Linked DNA regions of Homo sapiens: region 1 is linked to region 2. Evidence: promoter capture Hi-C in 16 types of primary human blood cells and fetal thymus (Javierre and others, 2016). All regions are on one chromosome and are shown on one strand. Each heading gives the region's core, a stretch centred on a gene start or on the middle of the fragment in contact. The rest is flanking DNA. Distances are from core to core; before and after follow the strand shown.

Evidence for each region. Contacts are between HindIII fragments. The CHiCAGO score rates a contact against its expected background, and 5 or more counts as called.
Region 1: a fragment that was not itself captured here is called in contact with the fragment with the promoter of NKD1 in region 2 in 1 of 17 cell types (neutrophils); the score reaches 5.0 in neutrophils.

What each region holds. Positions count from the first base shown.
Region 1 is chr16:49,998,293-50,002,345 of GRCh38, reverse strand. No RefSeq gene overlaps it. Among named protein-coding and RNA genes, the nearest start is that of CNEP1R1, 25 kb to the left of the region's middle. The HindIII fragment of the contact is 6,384 bases long and covers 1-4,053 here.
Region 2 is chr16:50,546,152-50,550,147 of GRCh38, reverse strand. NKD1 (NKD inhibitor of Wnt signaling pathway 1) reads right to left here and starts at 1,752. Exons shown (of 10, transcript NM_033119.5): 1 at 1,570-1,752; 2 at 1,399-1,431; 3 at 593-726. The coding sequence starts at 1,594. RefSeq lists silencers at 1,430-1,619, 1,660-2,109. The HindIII fragment of the contact is 5,196 bases long and covers 1-2,159 here.

The DNA of each region.
Region 1 (4,053 bases), core at 515-3,014, 550 kb after region 2:
GGGGATCTTGGCTGTTTGGTTCACCAAGGCACCTGGAACATTGTTTAGCACATAATATATGCTCAATAAATGCTTGTTAAAGGAAGGGTGGAAAAGAGGGAGGGAGGGAAGGTGGGAGGGATGTAGGGATTTCCATCCTATCCTATAGTGAGGAAAGAATAAACAAAGCCAAATAAGGGACTTTAGGAGCAAAAATGAGTGAATTTAACATGGGCTTTGATATAGTTTGGATGTTTTTCCCCTCCAAATCTCATGTTGAAGTGTGACCTCCACTGTTGGAGATTAGGCCTGGTGGCAGGTGTTTGGGTCGTTGGGGTGGGTCCCCCATAAATGGCTGAGTGCCATCCTCACAATAATCAGTTCATCCTGGCTCTGTTAGAAGAACCAGTTCAGAAGAGAGCTGGTTGTTTAAGGAGCCTGGTGCCTCCCCTCTCTCTCTTGCTCCCTCTCTTGCCATGTGACATGCCTGCTTTTATTTTACCTTCTGTTATGAGTGAAAGCTCCCTGAGGCTTCACCAGGAGCTGAGCAGATGTCAGCACTATGCTTCCTGTACAGCCTGCAGAACTGCAAGCCAAATTAGCCTCTTTTCTTTATAAATTACCCAGCCTCAGGTATTTTTTTTTAATTGCAATGCAAGAATGGATATATATATATATATATGGATATGGATATATATATTTTATATATATATGGATATGGATGTATATATTTTATATATATATGGATATGGATATATATATTATATATATATATGGATATGGATATATATATTATATATATATATCCTCTTGGTTTTGTCTCCCTGGAGAATCCTAATACTCATATGTATAAAAATCTATGTGTGTGTGTGTGTGTGTGTATGTGTGTGTGTGTGTGTGTGTGTTGAGAGACAGACACACACAGAGAGATTTATTTTAAGTAAATGGTGCACATGATTATTGAGGCTGGCAAGTCCAAAATCTACAGGGTAGTTGTCAGGCTAGAAACCCAGGGAAGAGCCGATGGATGTTGCAGTTCAAGTCCAAAGGCCTTCTGCGGGAAAATCCCCTCTAGCTGGGGGGAGGTCAGTCTTTCATTGGATTCAAGCCTTCAACTGATTGGATGAAGTCCACCCACATGGTGGAGGGCAGTCTGCTTTACTCAGAGTCCCCTGATTTAAATGCCAATCTCATTTCAAATCACCTTCACAGAAACGTGCAGAATGATGTTTTTCCAAATAGCTGGATAACTTGGCCCAGTTAAGTTGACACGAAAGTAACCATTACATTCATGAACACATATCTTTGTGCAAATGTATAAACTTTTATATGAACTAGATTTCTAGCAATGCAATTGTTGTTTCAAGGGATACGAACAATTGCCAAATTTGTGGAAAGATATTGCTATGCTATGCTCCTAAGGGGCTACAGACTAAGAGGTGCAAACTCCCTCCAACAGTATATGAGCATGAGTTTGGGCATGTGTGAACCTGGCCACTTTGAATACATGTTTCTCTAAATCTCTGCTTTGTTTCTGCATCAAGGCCTTTATACAAACTTCTTCGCAGCCTAGAATTCCTTTCTTCCCCACAACATCCTTTGCTTAGTTACTCTCCTACACAAATTTATCTACCTACACCCTCACCTAAATTAGGTCAAACTCTCCTGTTTATTTTTTATTTTTTGAGAGGATCAAGCATAATTTTATTTACTGAAAAAAATTGTTCCAGCTTTGCTGAGGTATAATTGACAAATAAGATTTGTAAGGGCTGGGCGAGGTGGCTCACGCCTATAATCCTGGCCCTTTGGAAGGCCTAGGTGGGAGGATCACTTGAGGCCAGGAACTCAAGGCCAGCCTGGGCAACATAGCGAGACCCTGTTCTACGAAAAAAATGTAAAAATTAGCCGGATGTAGTGGTATGAACATGTAGTCCTGGCTATTTGGGAGGCTGAGGAAGGAGGATTGTTTGAGGTCAGAAATTCAGGGTTACAGTGAGCTATGATTATACCTCTGCACTCCAGCCTGGGCAACAGAGTGAGACCCTGTCTCTTAAAAAAAAAAAGGCATACATTTCAGGTGTAGGACATGATGTTTTGATACACACACACACATTGTGAAATAATTACAACAATCAGGCTAATTAACATACCTATCATCACATAGTGACTTTTTTTTTTTTCTGGTAAGAATACTTCAGATTTACTTTCAGCAAATTTATTTATTTATTTATTTATTTTTGAAATGGAGTCTCGCTCTGTTGACCAGGCTGGAGTGCAGTGGTGCGATCTCGGCTCGCTGTAACCTCTGCCTCCCAGGCTCAAGTGATTCTCCTGCCTCAGCCTCCTGAGTAGCTGGGATTACAGGCATGAGCCACCACACCTGACTAATACATACATATTTTTTTTTTGTATTTTTAGTAGAGATGGGGTTTCATCATGTTGACAAGGCTGATCTCAAACTCCTGACCTCAGGCAATCTGCCTGTCTCTGCCTCCCAAAGTGCTGGGATTATAGGTGTGAACCACCATGCCTGGCCACTTTCAGGAAATTTCAAGTATATAATACAGTATTTTCAGCTACAGTCATCTTGCTGTACGTTAGATCCCCAGAACTGATTCATCATGCGTAACTGAAAGTTTGTGCTCCATGGCTGACACCTCCCGCTCCCCCACCCGATGCTCCTGCCTCATGCTCTTCGATACCGTCCCACCCTTCACAGCCAGGGTCACCTCCATCTGCAACTGCATGTTCACCTCTGTTCTGCAGGCTCACTGGCCTTCTGTCAGCTCTCACATGTATCAATCCTCTCCTGCCCGAGTCTCTGCATTTGCTGTTCTCTCTGCCTGGATCTCTTCCCCCAGTTCTTCATGAGACTGGCAACTTCTCATCCAAAACCTAGCTTCAAGGTCACCTCCTCAGAATGGCTTTCCTGACTTGCCCATCTATCTCTGAACCCATTCCCCAGGGCCACCACAACAAATTACCATGAACTTAACGGGCTTAAAACAGCAATTTATTCACTCACAGTTCTGGAGGCCAGAAGTCCCAAACCAAGGTCTTGACAGAGTTGTTTCCTTCTGGAAGCCCTGAGGGAGAATGTGTTCCATGCCTCTCTTTTACTTTTTGGTGGCTACCAGCAATCCTTGGCATTCGCTGGCTTGTAGATGTATCACTCCAACAACCTTCGCCTTCATCTTCGCATCACCCACATCACCTCATTCCCTGAGTCTTCTCCCATTCTCTTATCTTTTTTTTTTTTTTTTTGAGAAAAGGTCTCACTTTGTTGCCTAGGCTACAGTGCAGTGGCATGATCATAGCTCGCAACAGCCTTGAACCCCTGGGCTTAAGCAATGCTCCTGCCTCAGCCTCTGGAATAGTAGAGACTATGGACACACGTCATCACGCTGGGCTAATTTTTAAATTTTTTGTGGGGAGAGGGTCTTTCTGTTGCCCATGCTAGTGTCAAACTCCTGGGCTCAAGTGATCCTTCTGGCTTGGACTCCCAAAGTGCTGGAATTATAGGCATGAGCCACCACGCCCAGCTCCTTTCTATTCTCTTCTAAGGATACTTACCATTAGATTGACGTCCCACCCATGGAATCTAAGATGATCTTACCTTGAGATCTTTAACTTAATCACACCTGCAAAGCCCCTTTTCCAAATAAGGTCACATTTGCACGTTCTGGGTGGACATATACTGCGGGGGCCCACCATTAACCTCCTCTACACTATCACATTATCTTCTTTCATTTTTTGATGTTCAGAGTAATTATACATTTGAAATGATCTAGTTCAGTGATGTTTTCTAGTTGCTGGTTATCACTCATTACTGGGTTTTGAAATCCAGTGGGCCCGGACAAGTATTTTAAAATTTTAGATAGAAATTTATTAAAAAATGAAACAGAAAATATGACAGCCTATCACATTTAATAAGCGTGATGGCTGAGACTACTTCCATTCATACTGCCTCCATATCAGGACTGAGAGCTGAGACCACTTGGCTTAATAATTTGTCCCAGGGAAATCTTGTCCAGGAAGACAAGGTGAGAGAAGAATGTGGAGAAACTGGAACCT
Region 2 (3,996 bases), core at 503-3,002:
GTGAAGGCTCAGGGCTCTGCCCAGGCTACAGTGGAATGAGGCCCTCTATCTCATATGCCAAGTAAGGGGTCTTCCAGGTCTCAGTCCCCCTAGATCTGCTACCCAGAGGGCCGCCTGCTCTACTGGGGTTCCTGTACAGGTGGTACTGATGAATGCCACAGACAATCAGAACATATTCAGATCCTGGGGCCAGCACAGCTCTGCCTTCCACCCAGACACCCCTAATACCCCCTTCTCTCTAGCCCCTACTCCACCTCCACCTTTGAATGCTGGTGGCAGAAACAAGGTAGAAGTCAGAGCAGGCCCCCAAATCCCGCCGGTACAGACACGATTCCCCATCAACTGGACCTTCACCACCTCCCCACCTAGGACCTTTCCCCCAGGCAGCCCTCTGCCTCCAGCTGGGCACTTCGAGGTTCTCCAAGGCATGCGGGCAGAGGGTCGCGTTGGTGGGGCAGGGGGCAGCTGAGAAGAGATTTTCAGACCCAGAAGCTGTGCAGGAAAGTGCTCAAAGTTGGGGTGCATGGGTTTGGGGACCCATCTCTGAGGCTGAAAGGAGGCCAGGAGGTGGGGCAGGGGTGGGGAATCATACCCGGGTGCTTCGGCCTATGGTGCCCGCCAACCGCAGCTGTCGGGGTCCCGAGACACCGCCCGGGCAGCGCTGTCTCCCGATCCACTCCTCGATGCCCTTCCGAGCCCAGGCAGCGCTCACGGCGAAGCTGTCACCTGGGACGGGGACGACATGAAGCCCCTGAGTCTGGCTCCAGGTGCCAAAAGTTACCCCCGCGGAGGGAAGAAGGAGGCGCGGTGGGAGGCGAAGGACCACGGCACGGGGGCCAGGAGGGGGTTCGCGGGCTGGGGCAGGAGCCAAGAGAGGGACGCGGGTAAGTAAAGGGGGGTTCAGCGAAGCCCTAGGAGCGAGGAGCCAGAAGGGGGCAAGAGGGGTGAGCAGTACCCCAGGAGGACGGGTTTAGGATCAGACCAGGGAGCACTGGCAGCCAGGACTGCGGAGGAGAGGGCTGGGGGTCAGGAGAGGGGCCGCAGTAGGTGCAGGAGCCAGGATATCGGAAGAAGGGCCGGGGGGCAGGAAGAGGGGGCAGGGTCTTGCGGGGAGGCGCTTGGGGGTCTGAAGAGAGGGTGCCGTGAGAGCCGAGGGCAGGGACGCGGGAGGGGGAGGGGTTGAGGGTCAGCGGTGGGAGCGCAGGACCGCGGGGAGCGGGTAGGAGGGACAGAGGAGGGGGCGCGAAGGCTGCTCAGGGAGCGGGCTTGGGGGGCCGGTGGCCGGAACTGGGGCTTCGGGGTGGCCCTGGTCATAAGACCTGGCGGGCTGGGCCGTTCTGCCGCGGCCGCGGTGTCCCCCGCGTCCATCCCCGAGGTCTGCGCCCCGCGCGCCCCTACCTTCCGGGCTCTCCCTGCGCTTGCACACGGCGGCTGCAGGCACATCGCGAGGCGGCGGCGGCGGCGGCAGCCGCGGCGGCGGGAGAAGGAAAGAAAGGAAGGGAGAGAGTTAGCGACCGCGGCGGCGACGGCGGCGGGGCCCGGGGCGAGCGCGCGGGCGGGGGCACTGACCCGGCTTGGAGTGAAGTTTCCCCATGCTGGGGCTGCGGCGGCCGGGAGCGTCCCTAAGCCATGCGCCCGGCCCGCGGGCCTGGCGCCTCCCTTGGCTCTCCTCCTCCCGAAGCAGCCCCCGAGCCGAGCGGAGCCCGAGGCGGCGCCGGGACGCGCTCCTGCCGCCGTCGCCGCGGCCCGACTGACGCCCGGGAGCGCCGAGCCCCCAGCCCGCCGCCGCGGCCCGCGCCTCCCCGCGCGCCCATTGGCCGGTGCGGCGCATCAAAGGCAAGGCTGGTTGCGGCGGGGGCGGGGCCGGAGGCGGGGCAGGGCGGGGACGAGGGCGGGGCGCTGACGGGAGGGGCGGGACACAGTCCGCGCTCCCTGCCGCGGTCTGGGGCCGGGGGCCGAGCTCCAGGGCTGGCGACCCGGCGGGGCGGCTTGTCCAGGAGGCGTATTGGGACAGAACAGCCCGGCCATCGCTAACTGTACTGTCACTTCCCTCCGCTCCACGTTCTCTCTAAACGGGCAGGGCGGGACTCGGCGGCTCCAATTTACAGGTGGGGAAACTGAGGTCGGGAGCGGAGACCTTAGCTGCTCAGGTGCAAGCTTCGGCAGCGCTGCCTTTTCCCAGTCTTCCCACGACCTACCTTCTGCAGAAAGTGTTCATTACCCGCCCCGTGACCCGCCCCCCACCACCGCACTCCTCTAGTTTCTTATTTGGGGAGTCCAGGAGGAGCCCCCAGCGCACCCCGGGCCAGTGTGAGCCCAGCCCTCTCCAGGCAGCGACAAATGTCCAAAGCGCCCCGTTATCAGCCAGTCTCTGGGATCTCCTCGTCCGGGGGCCCGTGGGTGCCCGCCCGGGTCGGGGCGCGCTGCCAAACTGCGCGGCCCGGAAGGGGGTAACCGCTGAGTCTTTGATCTTCCTTGGTTTCCGCTCCCCGCTGCAGTTCGCCAGACCCAAGGGTTTGTTTGTTTTGTCTGGGGAGGTCTCTGCGGGGAGGTCGCGCGGGGGGAGGGGGATGGTGGCGGTCGACATCAAGGGATTCCACCCCACCTTTGTGGCTCTCAGAACGCCTGCCCCCTTCTGGGGACACTGTGGGTCCGTGTTACGCTCGTCCTGGCACCAGGCAGCTCTGGCGTGGGAAAAGAAAACCCGCAGCTCAGAGTGAGACCAGCCCCGACCTTTGGAGTGAATTACCTGTGCTCAGTTTTGTGATCTGTATAATGGAGGCTCCATTCTGCCCTTTTTGCCGACTCTCTAGAGCAGCACTGCCCAATAGAAATATAATGTGGGCCACATTTGTAATTTTAAATTTTCTTGTCGCCACATCTTTTAGAAGTAAAAAGAAATAGATGAAATATTAATAATATATTTCGCTTAACTCAATACAGTCAGCCCTCCTTATTCACAGGTTCCACATCTGTGGCATCAACCATCTGTGGACTGAAAATATGCAAAAAGAATAATACAGCAAAAATAAAGAATAAAAAACTTTTTAATATAGTATAACAACTATTTACATAACATTTACATTGTATTAGGAATTACAAGGAATCTAGAGATGATTTAAAGTATTCAGAAGGATGTGTGTAGGTTATATGCAAATACTACAGGACATTTTATATAGCGGACTTGACATCTGGGGATTTGGGTATCCTCTAGGATCCTGGAACCAGTCCCCAAAGACACCAAGGGAACACCATATATCCAAAATAGTATAATTTCAAGATATAATGAGATATTTTACATTCTTTGTATTGCGCTAAGTCTTTAAAATTCAGTGTGTATTTTACACTTAAAACACATCTCAAAGACTAGCCATATTGCAAGTGACCATTTGCACTTGGCTAGTGGCTACTGCATTGGGCAGCATCGCTCTGGAAGATCTACATGTCTCAAAAGGACATTAGGAATTCACAGCCCCCCAGAGTCATAAATCTCTTCATCCAAGTGTCTTACTTTCATGTTCCAAGCTTCCTTTTTTAACACCCTTTTTGGTGGAAACGAAGGCTAATGTTATAAGCAGGTACACTAAAATCCTGTTGGCCAGGTGGTTTCATTTGAAGAGTGCTGAAACCACAAAAATATATTACTGTTGTCATTTTTATGTTACAATTCTTCATTCAGTACTTCTGATGTGCCAGTCCTCATCCTCCATCATGTGTAGCCCTCGCAACCACTCTCTGATGCAGACTCATACTTGTTCTAGAAAGGAGGGAACCTATTCAACTCAGAGAGGTGAACTCACTTGCCCAAGGTCACAAAGTTCATCCATGACCCAATTAGGAACTGAACTCCAATCTGTTGATTTCATTGCCCAGGCTTGTTTTCACTACATCAGGTTGTCCCAACACAGTGCAAAACTAATGTTCCACCACTAGAAAGAGAGTCTTCCATCTGGAAACAAATATGAAGGGCCAGCCATGTGACAACCATTGTTTTAG